Linked DNA regions of Homo sapiens: region 2 is linked to region 1. Evidence: promoter capture Hi-C in human tissues and cell types (Jung and others, 2019). All regions are on one chromosome and are shown on one strand. The core of a region is centred on a gene start or on the middle of the fragment in contact, and the rest is flanking DNA. Distances in the headings are between cores, read along the strand shown.

Region 1 (6,049 bases), core at 2,351-4,850:
AATTGTTACTAAAAATGACATCACAAATTCTAATTAAGAAAAAAAAACAGCTGATTTCCCTATTGTTTCAAGTAATTTTCTTTTTCATTTTTTGAAACACAGTATGCCCTTCGCCCAGTCTGAACAAGTGGCACAATCTCAGCTCACTGCACTGGTTTCAAGCGATTCTCCTGCCTTAGCCTCCTGAGTACCTGGGACTACAGGCGTGTACCACCATGCCCGGCTTTTGTATTTTTAGTAAAGACAGAGTTTCACCATGCTGGCCAGGCTGGTCTCAAACTCCCGACCTCAAGTAATCCACCCACCTCAGCCTCCCAAAGTGATGATTACAAGCATGAGCCACCGTGCCCGGCCAGTAATTTTCAATAGAAAGAAATTCTAATACACTAACAGGAAAACCTAGAGTGAATGAAGTGTACTACAATAGGATTTTACAACTCTGAAACAAAAGAGCTATTAATGGACCCATTTCTCCCACTCTAATCCCTCCTCATTTTCTTTTTCTTTTCTTTTTTTTTTTTTTTTTTTGAGACAGGGTCTTGGTCTGTCACCCAAGCTGGAGTGCAGTAGCACCATCATAGCTCACTGCAGCCTCCAAGTCCCAGGCTCAGGCAATCTTCCCACCTCAGCCTCCCAAGTAGCTGGGACAACAGGCACATGTCACCACAACTAGCTAATTTTTTTATTTTTCATAGAGACAGGGTCTAGTTATGTTGCCCAAGCTGGTCTTGAACTCCTGAGCTCAAGTGATCCTCCCACCTCAGCCTCCCAAAGTGCTGGGATTACAGGCCTGAGCCACGGCACCTGGTTCCTCATTTTCTCATACCTTCTTGCTTCTTCCTCTTCACTGAATACCTATTATGTGCCAGAATCTATGTTAGGGGCAGATGAAACATTTCAGGATCTGACCTCATGATGATTAGTTCAGTCTACAGTTTCTAATATATTTACTCATTAATCCTCATACCAAGAATAAAGTAGGTACTGTTATCATATCACAGATGAGGATACTGAAGCACAGAGAGGTTAAGTAATTTTACTGAAGTCGCTTGTAAATGTGTGGAGATAATTTCTGAAACTAGTTTGGTTTCAGAGACCAAGCTCTTAACCATTACCTTTTGCTGCTTCCCTACAAGACAGAGATTAACTTCCTCCATCACTTTCCGAAACTCCAAGTTCAAAGCAAGTAGAGTTTTAAGAAAAGTTACATCCTAGGTGGAGACACTGAGAGACTCTAATTCAACAGAGCTGGTAGCCCACCATCTGTACTTTTATTAAAAAGTATCACGAGTGATTTTTGTGAGCCTTGGTTAACATTCACTCCCCTGGATTTCTAAACTAGAACTCTTAGCTAAAACTTGAAGGGAGAGGGGAGATGAATAAATAAACACACACACACATTTTCTCCCCATCCCCTTTCCTAAAGAAAAAAGATTAGGAAGTAGGGAAGCATAAAGGTATCATGTCTTTTTATGTTACATTAACCAGCTTTCATTATTATTATTATTATGCTGACGATAAAAAAGTGAAGAGTTTTCATTTGCTTTTTAAATCAAGAGATTATCAGGTTTGCGCATTAGAAAAATAACTCCAGTGGTGGTGTAGAGAAGATTAAGGGCAGAGACTGTAGAAAAGGAGTAAAATCAGCCAAGAAATCAAGAATAGAAGCAGACTAAAAGCCTGAACTATGCGCTGATAGTAAAGAAGATGCAGTAAATTTAAGAAACCTCTTAAGGTAAAACTGGTAGGACATGGTTATTGATTAGAGAGTGTTATAGGAATGAATGCCTCCAAGTATGTTTAACATGCAACCAGGTGAAAGATGATGCCATTAAACCAGATCTGAACTTACTGAGAGAAGAACAAGTGGGTTTTGTTGGTCATGATAGTATTACTTGGGAGAGGAGCAGCTTTTGGCATGGAAAACTAGTTTCAGTGGAGTGATGGCAATAGATGTGAATTTGCAGTGAATGAGAATAAATGAGGTTATGAAGCAGAATTACTAAATATAAGTCTCACTTTAAGAAGTCAGACTATGAAAGGTAGTGGCTGCAAAGAGTGAAAAATGTTTTTCATTTCACAACTCTGCTTCATTGCCTCAAGGATTCTTTCAAAATCAATCCAAACCTGAAAGAGGGAGATGTTTAAACGGAAGGGATCCCCTCTTGAAAAGTCCCAGCCTGGATCAGTTTAGATGGAAAATCAAACAGGATAATCTTCAAATACGCAGTAAGTCAAGCAGTATATCAGCATCCACCCTGAATATAAAAAGAAAAAAACTGACAAGACAACCAAGGAGCACGAATAATCCAAAAAAGGATGCCCACCTATCCTTTAAAAGAGCCAGTAGGTACAAGTGTGTAATTTTATGTTTTTTTAAAAAAAAATTTATATAACCCTAACAACTCCAATACAAGAAATAATGATTGGCATCTCCTCCATTCTACAGATAAAGAACGCGAAAAGACAAAAGTCACAATTGCCCAATTTTCCAAGGTCATACTTCAGATTAACAGCAAAACCAAGCCCATATTTGTCATTCAGCCGCCTAGTCTAATACTCCAAACACCAAACCACAAACGCTGTCAAATAATTCAAAATGGGGTAGGGAAAGCAACAGGGAGACATGAGTGAAACTCAAGGAACAGAGGACGCTATCTGCAATGAGTAAACAACCATTAGTGTTCGATGAGTCACTTCAGTTGATTCCAGCTGTTTATGAAATACTCCTGCACTGGGAAATACTATCGGTGGCATATCATAAAGCTGATAGCCCTAACTATGCATAAGATGTGCCCTCGGAACGCGAATAGGCACTATTCGACGAAATCTCCGCACGTAATTCTAGTTTCCAACGAAATTAGGCGTGTCACTGACCACCTCCGTAAACCAGCATGACCAATACTCCTACTGAAATGCCTAGGAAATAAATATTTGGACGCCTTCCTAGACAAGCACAGGATGGTGTAAATCTCCATTTCTCTCAGGAAACACGTCCTGCTGCTCACAACCACCAACCAACTCAGCAGCTTGGTAAAAACAGACCCAATACACTCGTTTCTTCTAAGCGCACAGCTAGCTGCCTAGCATCTATTCAGCTCCTCCCGAAGGAAGCATAAACATCTTCACCAAACTGTAGCAAAGAAGACAGAGGCAAGTCGGGTTAACGCTTCAAAGAGAGAAAAGACGCTGGAGTCAGAAGAGTAGACATAAAGAACTAGAGTCAAGAAACAGTGAATCGGGGGAAAAAAGGAACTAGAGAGCCACCTGTCCCTTAGTAAAGGTAATACGAATAAAAGCCTCTCTGCTCTGGGGCAGAAGAGCGCCGAGGCCTAGCTGGCCTTGGAGCAGTAGCCGGCTCTATAACTCCGCGGCTGAACTGGCATTCTCGGGAAACCAGCTGGTACCACCCAGTCTTCTCCTACAGACGCCACGGGTTGTCCGGACACAGAAAGTCCCTCGTGTCCCTCCCCCAACCAGCTGCCAGGGAGCAAAAGCATCCCCGTCCCAGAGAAAAGCCGAGGTCTTCCTGGAGGCCGTTACCTACCTTCCCGCTCACAACACCCGCCGCCGCCATGTTTCCTGCGCGTGCCTGGTAATGACGTAGCAGAACCTCACGTGTCTCTCGGACATACAACAACATCCGGCAAAACTAGAATAACATCCGGGCGGGAAAAGGGCGGGGAGTGGCGGGAAGGGAGTGGAGGAAAGGAGCCGGGCGGAAAAAAGCCGCCTGACGCGTGCGTGCTGAACTGGGCTCAGAGACGGCTGGGGTGGAGTCTCAGGCCTAACGCTACGCTTGTGCTTGCCCCACGTCCTCCCCAAGGAAGACTGCTAAAATAATGTGTACCTTACTTGTATTGGAGTTTGTCGAGACTCTGAAGCTAGCGCAGGCCACGCCAGTTTGGTGAGATGAAACGAATACCATACTGGAAGCCAGCAAGATTTGTCCTGGTTTTTTGTTGTTGTTGTAGAAAAGGAGTCTCGCTCTGTCGCTCAGGCTGGAGTGCAGTGGCGCGATCTCGGCTCATTGCAGCCTCCGCCACTCGGTTCAAGCGATTCTCAAGCCTCAGCCTCCCGGGTAGCTGGGATTACAGGCGCGCGTCAAACGCCCAGCTAATTTTTAAATTTTTATTAGAGACGAGATTTCGCCAATGTTGCCCAGGCTGGTCTCGAACTCCTGACTTCAGGTGATCCGTCCGCTTCAGCCTTTGCCCAGAGAGCTGGGATTACAGGCTTGAGCCACCGCGCCCAGCCCATTAGCCTGGTTTTGTGGCAGTAGGCAAATCACCAGTGCACTCGAAACCTCAGTTTCTTATAGTAAAATCAAGATAGTGGCGTTGCGGTGAAGATCCAAGAAAGAGCAGCACTAACATGGAGATATCCCAGGCACTATACATGGAGACTTTTCCCCTCTGTATATGAGGTTTCTCTATTTGTCTGGTCACTGCCACTCACACATGACCTCCAGCAAGGTATTTCGATAGGAACTGTGATAATACCACGCCCTCATAGCTGCAGAGCCCAAGGCACATAGTTTATAGCACCTACACATTACTTATTAGCTCTGTGACTTAAAGCAGGTTTCTAAATTTATCAGAGCTTCAGGATGTAAACTGGGAATTACTCCTGCATGGAGTGGTTGTAGGGATTTCATACGACAATACATGTGTGGTAAAATGATTTGTAAAGATACTAAGGTAAGAATTTTACTTGTTCTCAGTGCTGTAAAAGAATGCAGAGAATGATTATATACTACCCCCTTGATAACTCTGGCACAGATCTGGGATTTCCCTAGCTCCGGGGCAGAATAAAAAGTCCCTTTCACCAAAAACACTTGTGTCCATTGAGGTACTTCCGTCTTCACACAGTGGAGAGGGGTTAGAGGCTTTTGAGTTTGGTTGAGGTAGGTGGCAACTAGCTGAACGACAGAAAAGGAGAGTTGCCGGTTATGTGACTACCAGGAACCTAATAGGTGAGGAAAGTGGTGGAACCTTAGGTGGGAATGAATGCGTAGCATATTAGGGAGATTGCGTGCTAGGTATCTGAGATTCCAACCATGACCAAGACCCTTATGCCCAAGCTTGGCAGGGAATCAAGAAAGCAGCTCACCTACAAGGGATGAATGAGGTGGGAAAATGAGAATATTAGCAGTAATCAGCATTGAGTGAAGACTAGAGGGCCTTTTCCAAATGTACTGGACTGAGACTAAGACCCCTAGAACCTTCATATAATCTTGGGTGTGGAGTGGAAAATCCTACTGATGACCCAAATTACATTTTCCACCAGCTCAGAGCATTGGGATGTGGTTAGAGAAAAATTTTAATGTGACATCACATTTCTTACACCCTGTGTTTTAGAGAAAATTTGAAGCCCTTAGCACAGTGCCAGGAATAAAAGGCTCAATAAATGTAGTTATTACTTATATTTTAAAATATAAGTTTGAGAACTACAGGCTTCTCATTGAAAAGCATCATTGGCATCTCAGGTTCATCTGCTACTTCTTGACCTTCTTAAATTTCATCCTACAAGTGTGCCTTAAATAATGGCGCTACCCATGGGCTGGCCTTGGGCCTCTCTTCCTTTTTCTCCAAACACTATTCCTGGGCCGTTATCCTCATATTCTGGCATCAAAATCTCCTATGTACTGATGACTCCCAAATATTCCCAGCCCAAGTCTCTCTTTCCTAAACTCTAGTCCCTGTGTCCACTGCCACTGGACTTCTGACTTGAGTGAGCTAATCATACATCAAAAAAGTATAAGCCTTTACTACTCAAAGTGTATGTGTACAGACCAGCAGCACCAGCATCAGTTGAAAGCTTGTTAGAAATGCAGAATCTAACTGGGCACGGTGGCTCATGCGTGTAATCCCAGCACTTTGGGAGGCCAAGGCAAGCGGATTACTTGAGGCCAGCAGTTCAAGACCAGCCTGGCCAACATGGTAAAACCCTGTCTCTTCTAAAAATACAAAAATTAGCCTGGCGTGTTGGTGCATGCCTGTAGTCCCAGCTGCTCAGGAGGCTGAGCCAGGAGAATCACTTGAACCTG
Region 2 (6,049 bases), core at 1,266-3,765, 390 kb after region 1:
GCACTGTCCCTTGGGTCGCAAATTTCTTCCATTAGCCCTTCCACCTCTCTTGCCATTCTTTTTCTAGGCTTTTCTCTATTGTACAGTTAACACTGTAACAATGATAGAGTAGGCCTATTGCCAAATGCAGGCATGTCTGCTAAGGGTCCCTTCAGGACAGGAAGTACAAAGACAAAATAAAGAGGAAGATCCTTTATTCTCAGTCTTTACTAGAAGACTCCAAATTCACTTTGTAGATTCACTCAACAAATACTGTGAAATAAATGTTTATTGTGAAAACTTCAATATATATACAAAATAGTTCATTAAGGAATATAACATCTTCTATGGAAATTTTTATTTGGTTTTCATAATCACATAATAACAACCATATATGTAAAAAACTGAAAGGTTGTATTTTGTGCGGATAGATTTAAAGACCAATTGATTATGTAACAGAGTTCCTTCAAGTAAGTGCCTCACGAGAAAATTTATAACCTAAAACCTTCAAGCACCATGTGGTGTTTTGTGCATCGAACCAATAAACTCATTAAAATAACATTGCATCAACCCAAACACAACACATTGGAAGTTCTAACACAGCCCACATTAACCAACCAACTTTAAAATAATATCCTTGTTATGTACTAAGGTTAAAAATTCAGCAAATTCTTTATATTTTTTCCACTTGAGATCATGTGTGGTTTTCTACTTTCCTGAGAAGTACACTTTTGTGGCTTTTTTGATTAAAGAAAGGTTATTTTTACAAATCGACATCTTTTGTAGAGGTCTCTGCTCCACTTAATCAAGGTTTCAAGAAAAAAGGAGAACAAAAGTATTTACCAGTGTTTCAGTGAAACTTAAAAATTCTAAGGTTATTTTCTCAGTGTAGGCTTTGAAAAGAAGGCACGCATGTAAGGTTAGTCACCACAGTTTGTGTGTGTGTGTGTGTGTGTGTGTGTGTTTGTGTGTGTGTGAGGGAGACGAGGAGGAAGGGGGAAATAAAGGAATTTGGCTGCAAACTGAGGAACAGTTTGAAACACTTGGCTTCTAGTTGTGAAAGATGAGCAACACGGAAAAAAGGACAGGCTAACAAGGGACCACTTGAGGAAAGCTTAATTTCGCCTGGCAGGCTGAGGAGGGAGGTCAGCTCCATGCACGCGTTCTCAGCTGGAGTTGGGCTCCCTTTGCCAGGACGATTGTCTTCTGCATTTCAGTTTCTGAACCGAACTGAAGGTGCCTTCAAGCAGCCAGTTCCACAGTCTCTCCCTTGTAAAGGGTCGGCCCTTCACGGCTATGCCCTGCCAATGTTTGTATCATTTCTGCCAAGCAAGTGGCACAAAGGGAATTGTTTCTTGTTGGTGTGTGTATTAGTGTGCACGAGACACTTTCTTCCCCCTTGGCCATCACAGTCCTTGTTTGAAGAAGAAGCAAACACTCCTTCTGAAGGCAAGAAGGATAAAATGAGTGTGTGGAAAATGTGCATATAGAAAAAATAGGACATTTGAAAATTAGAGATTGTTGAATAAATTGTTAAGTCAGTAAAAAGCTGGAGTATGAGAGTACTATTTTAAAACATTCTAGAGACTGTACCCCAAACATATCCTAATTTTTCTAAACATCAGTACTGTTTTTTCTGTTGACTTTGTAATACAATAAATGATTAATGTATATCAGGTTAATAAGCTGAATCAAGGGACTGAGGAAATTAAATGCATAGTTCAGAAAAGGTTTTTCATTATTTGAAGGAGGGGACTTTTCTATGACTTATGCAGATTTCTAATTGACACATAAGTCTGTATCACTAATTGTCAAAGCATGCAAAGTTTAAAAATATGTTGGGGGATTTGATAAAACTTTGAAACAATTTTCTATTGTGAATCAAATGAATAACATTCTGATACCTTCGTGACAACAATGTATCGCATCTCATCCATTTTAAAGGTGAATACAAGCTCAAATAGAATTTGCCTGTTAAGAAAGTTCATGTCTGTCTGAACTGAGAAATAGTTCCAAAGAATGCAGCTACTTAATTTGACACATAGATCTGGTTATAGGAAAAAAGTTTTATTCTTGCCTAGGTGGTTACTAATCTATTGATCCCTCTTCACAATACTCTGGCAGCTACTGCAACTTATCTCTGATTTGAAGACAAGAAAAATTGTTTCTGTGGTAGTAAGAAAATGGATATATAAAAAGATGTCTACTAAATTTGTAATATTGGCCCTAAACTATATAATGTAATGCTCACATTATTGGAAAATTGAAAACTGCATTTTGCTCTGGAATTCCCTGAAAAAATATTTCTGGTATTAGGGCTTCATAAATTGTGTTCCTGAAAAGAAAAATGGGCCAAAACATTTCAGCACCAATTAAAATGATTACAAGGCATAAGTATAAATTGGAAAGCCTGTTTTCTTGGGTTGCTGTAAACTGGCCCTGAAGATAACTTCAAAGGAAATCCAAAAATATTTTGAGCAATGGAAATACTTGAAATAAGCTTACAGTAAGCTTACCTAATAAGAGGTACTATTATCATTCCTAACGTCACAAGTTGCCCCACCACAAGGGGGGTATTGACTGAGTAAAGTATTTAGTATCTTTGTGGGGCCTATGACTGAGTGAAGTATTTAGTGCCGAACACTTAGGAAACACAATACAACTATCAGTTATTATGACTATTGCTATTACAATAATAAAGTAATTTATACATGTAAATCATGGCATGTGTTAAAATAAACAACTCATTGCATCATTTAAACTGAACACAATTCAGCTGTATTTCAAATGGGGCTGGACAATAATTGTGGCCAGTGGCCTTGTGTTGTTTGTACTTGCGGACTAGTAGTTCTCACCTGTCTTTCTCTGACTCCTATTAGCCACTGGGATTTCAGCAGCTGGTTCAGCCAATTCTACTCAATTCAACATTACTGGTATTTACTGAACTCCCTTAAGAGCCAGGCATTGGTATGGGCACTTGGGGTATAAAGTGGAAAATGCCCTACCCTGGAGGAGCTCACAGCCAAAGAAGAAGAATAAGCCCTGAAGGAAAGAGCCCACCATGAAACCCTAGGGTGTTATTCCATCTGACTTTCAGGAAGTTGTTTACACGGTCAGGAGTTGGTTCCTTTGCATACTCTCCAAGTAAATCTCAGCGTCTCCAATTCCAGACTTAAACATTAAAAAGAGAAGTAATACATGAGGATATACGGAAGCACTTCTGCTTATGAAACATCTTTTGAATAGTTTTCCACTAATGCTAACATCCTGTTAAGAGCCTTTTAGCATTACCACTAGATACATTATTCCATTTCTTGAAATCAAATGACTAACGTTTTTCTCCGTTCCAGTTTCAAGCCAGGCATTCCCATTGGGCTTAATCCATTAAACAGAAAAATGCCACAGATTTTAGGAACGGACCTGCTTCCCACCATATAACTTATGGATAACAAAATCAGTTTTGAATTATGAGAATTTAATTAAAAATTCCACATTATAGACTATGAAATGTCTCCTTTTGGCATAGAGTTCCATAGGTGAAATTGGGCATGTAGTTGGTTATTTACAATGGTTAAATTAAAGTGTGGATTAAAGCTGACAGATCTGGGAATGAAAGAGTTGCAGTGGGCTAGAACTCATGGGCCGATTTAACAAGTGAAATTCTACCAAGATACATCAAAAATAGCAACAGGACTAGATACTCAGCTCATTTTGTTTTATTTGTAATATACCAGTTGTGGCTTTAGTGCCAGTCTGATTCATCTCTCTACTACAAAATGAGGCTCTATAAAGGAAAATATTGCAACTGGAGTGAGGAATTTGAATCTTATAGGAAGGAATTTGTCTTCTCATGAAGACTTCAGTTTACCAGAAGTATCTATTGAGGAAGTGTTTACAAGAAAATGTGCCATTTAGCTTTATTCTAAATTTGCATAATAACTGAACCAAACAAAAACATTACTTCACAAAATTGCTCATTGGACAACCCACTACTGTTTTTCATTTCTGTCTTATGGCCTGTGATTTAGATCATTCAGAAACATACTTAAATTTGTAGCTAAAATGACTTAAATCCATGAATTTGATAGAAGAAATATAAAAAAATGCTTTGCTAAGGTAAGTCAAAATTAAGTATCAGTTATAAAATTATAAATATTCTATAATGTCTTTAATTTTGATAGCTTTATTGGGTTAATTGTTTGGTCTGAAATTTCTATGCCTTTGATAGATATATATTTTGAAAACTGAAAACAATAAAATAGTTCAGATAAAATACTTAACTCTCAGAAATCATAGACCAGTTTTGTGTTTCTAAACTTCTTTAAACACACCCAAGTGTGACTGGTCTATTATCAAAACATGATGTTGTTTAACTACACAGGCTATTTCTTGATTCCGATCTTCTAACTCATTTATGATTGCTACCTTTTGTTGCTACATCAGAACTCCTTTACTTTGAGGAAAATGCATAAGGAAGAAAGAAAAAAACTGAAGATCATGTTTATTATATGTAAAAATTCATTCTTGTCACACCAACTCTGCCATGCATATGTTAAATATATTCAGTAAATATTTATTTTAAATTTATGCCACAAAATTGTTTGAATGAGCTCACTACTTTAAAAAATTACTTAGACTAATTATCAGTTAGTTTTAATAATTCACCCTATAACAAAAACACTATGGAAAAAATCCCCAGGAATCCTGGAGAAAAAGAAAGAACTTCATTAAAATGAAGAAAATTTACTGGCATCATTATATTTTAAACAATTCTAAAAGTACATTTTAGAGCAAACTGTATAATGTTTGTAATTGATCTAAATGTTAAGGCTGTTATAAGAGTTACTATTTTTGTAATCATTTCTAAAGTACATTTTCTTTTATTTAAGATAAGAGAAGCAGAACTATATTAACTCATTTTCAAAGAAGATCCTAAAAAGGATCTTTCATCTTGAAACTGCATCTTAAACACTTAAAACACATTTATGATATTAAGGCGGTGCCTGATTTAACTAATTGTGGCTTTTGTTCCATTCTTATTAACATTAGTTTTAGGAGTTATGTGTAAAATTAAATTTTGTTTCAAAGTTACATATGAAAAAGTAACCAAACTACATATAATTAAAAAAAAAAATCTTTTCTCTTGGTCCCTTTGGTTTATATAACATACATTTGCTTGTGGATGAAATGTGAATGCCTTTAAGGAACAGCAAAGAAAAATTCAGTTTTCTTTTTAAAATAAAATAGCTGTTCTGGACCAATAAAGAAAAGTATATTTATTATATTAGGATCTTCATTAGGATTCAGTTTTCTATCTGAATGTCACACTAACTAGACAGACACATCAAAGTAGCAGAGAGGAGTTTACTTTTAAGACCCTATTAATAAAAATGTCCACATTTGATGCATTAAAATAACTTACCTATACTAAGATTAGATGTTAGAACTACTTTATTTAGGACAGATCACAACTGGTATTAAATGTTGTAAACCATTATTGTCTGCTTTTATATCTCAACCTTGGTGCGTTCCTTATTTTCTGCTAAGTAAACTTTATTAGCCCCTGTTAGTAAAATCAGAGCCCATAACCACTTGCTGGGGCAGCAGGGGGAGAGAAGAGATGAAGACTGAGATTTTTCCAGCGTTTTCACTCGGTTTATTGGTCCAGTTAAAGACCTACTGTGGAAGGCAGCTCAGTAAGAAAAGAGAATCAATATTAATATTTGCACTGGCTTAAAATTTTGCTTTTCTGGGAAAAAAAGATTACAAAATGGCACATAAATAGTGTTTGCATTCTGTGAAGAGATGTAGGAAACTTTCTTTACCTACAAGTCTGACTAGCCAGCTCTCAGATTGTGGTAAATGTGTACAGCTACTTGCCAAATGTGTACAGCTGGAACTTGCCATCATCAATCTGTTTGAAGAAAAGGAAATGCTTGTTCTTTTTTTGAAGGGGATTGGGTGATAACATTTTGACTAAATAAATGATGATAACCTCTTACAAATAATAAAAGATAGTAGTTCTGGCTTTTTACCACATCAGTCTTGGTACACTGCAACTTTTTCATCA

The links. Contacts are between HindIII fragments. The study calls those that stand out against the background at their distance.
Region 2: a fragment that was not itself captured here is called in contact with the fragment with the promoter of TBC1D15 in region 1 in 1 of the 25 tissues and cell types used here (liver).

The regions. Positions count from the first base shown.
Region 1 is chr12:71,837,310-71,843,358 of GRCh38, reverse strand. TBC1D15 (TBC1 domain family member 15) reads right to left here and starts at 3,600. Exons shown (of 17, transcript NM_001146213.3): 1 at 3,548-3,600. The coding sequence starts at 3,577. The HindIII fragment of the contact is 9,599 bases long and covers 1-5,452 here.
Region 2 is chr12:71,442,979-71,449,027 of GRCh38, reverse strand. The region is part of intron 1 of LGR5 (leucine rich repeat containing G protein-coupled receptor 5); the gene reads right to left. All of the region lies in intron 1 of LOC124902962 (a long non-coding RNA gene), which reads left to right. Among named protein-coding and RNA genes, the nearest start is that of LGR5, 6.2 kb to the right of the region's middle. The HindIII fragment of the contact is 4,341 bases long and covers 345-4,685 here.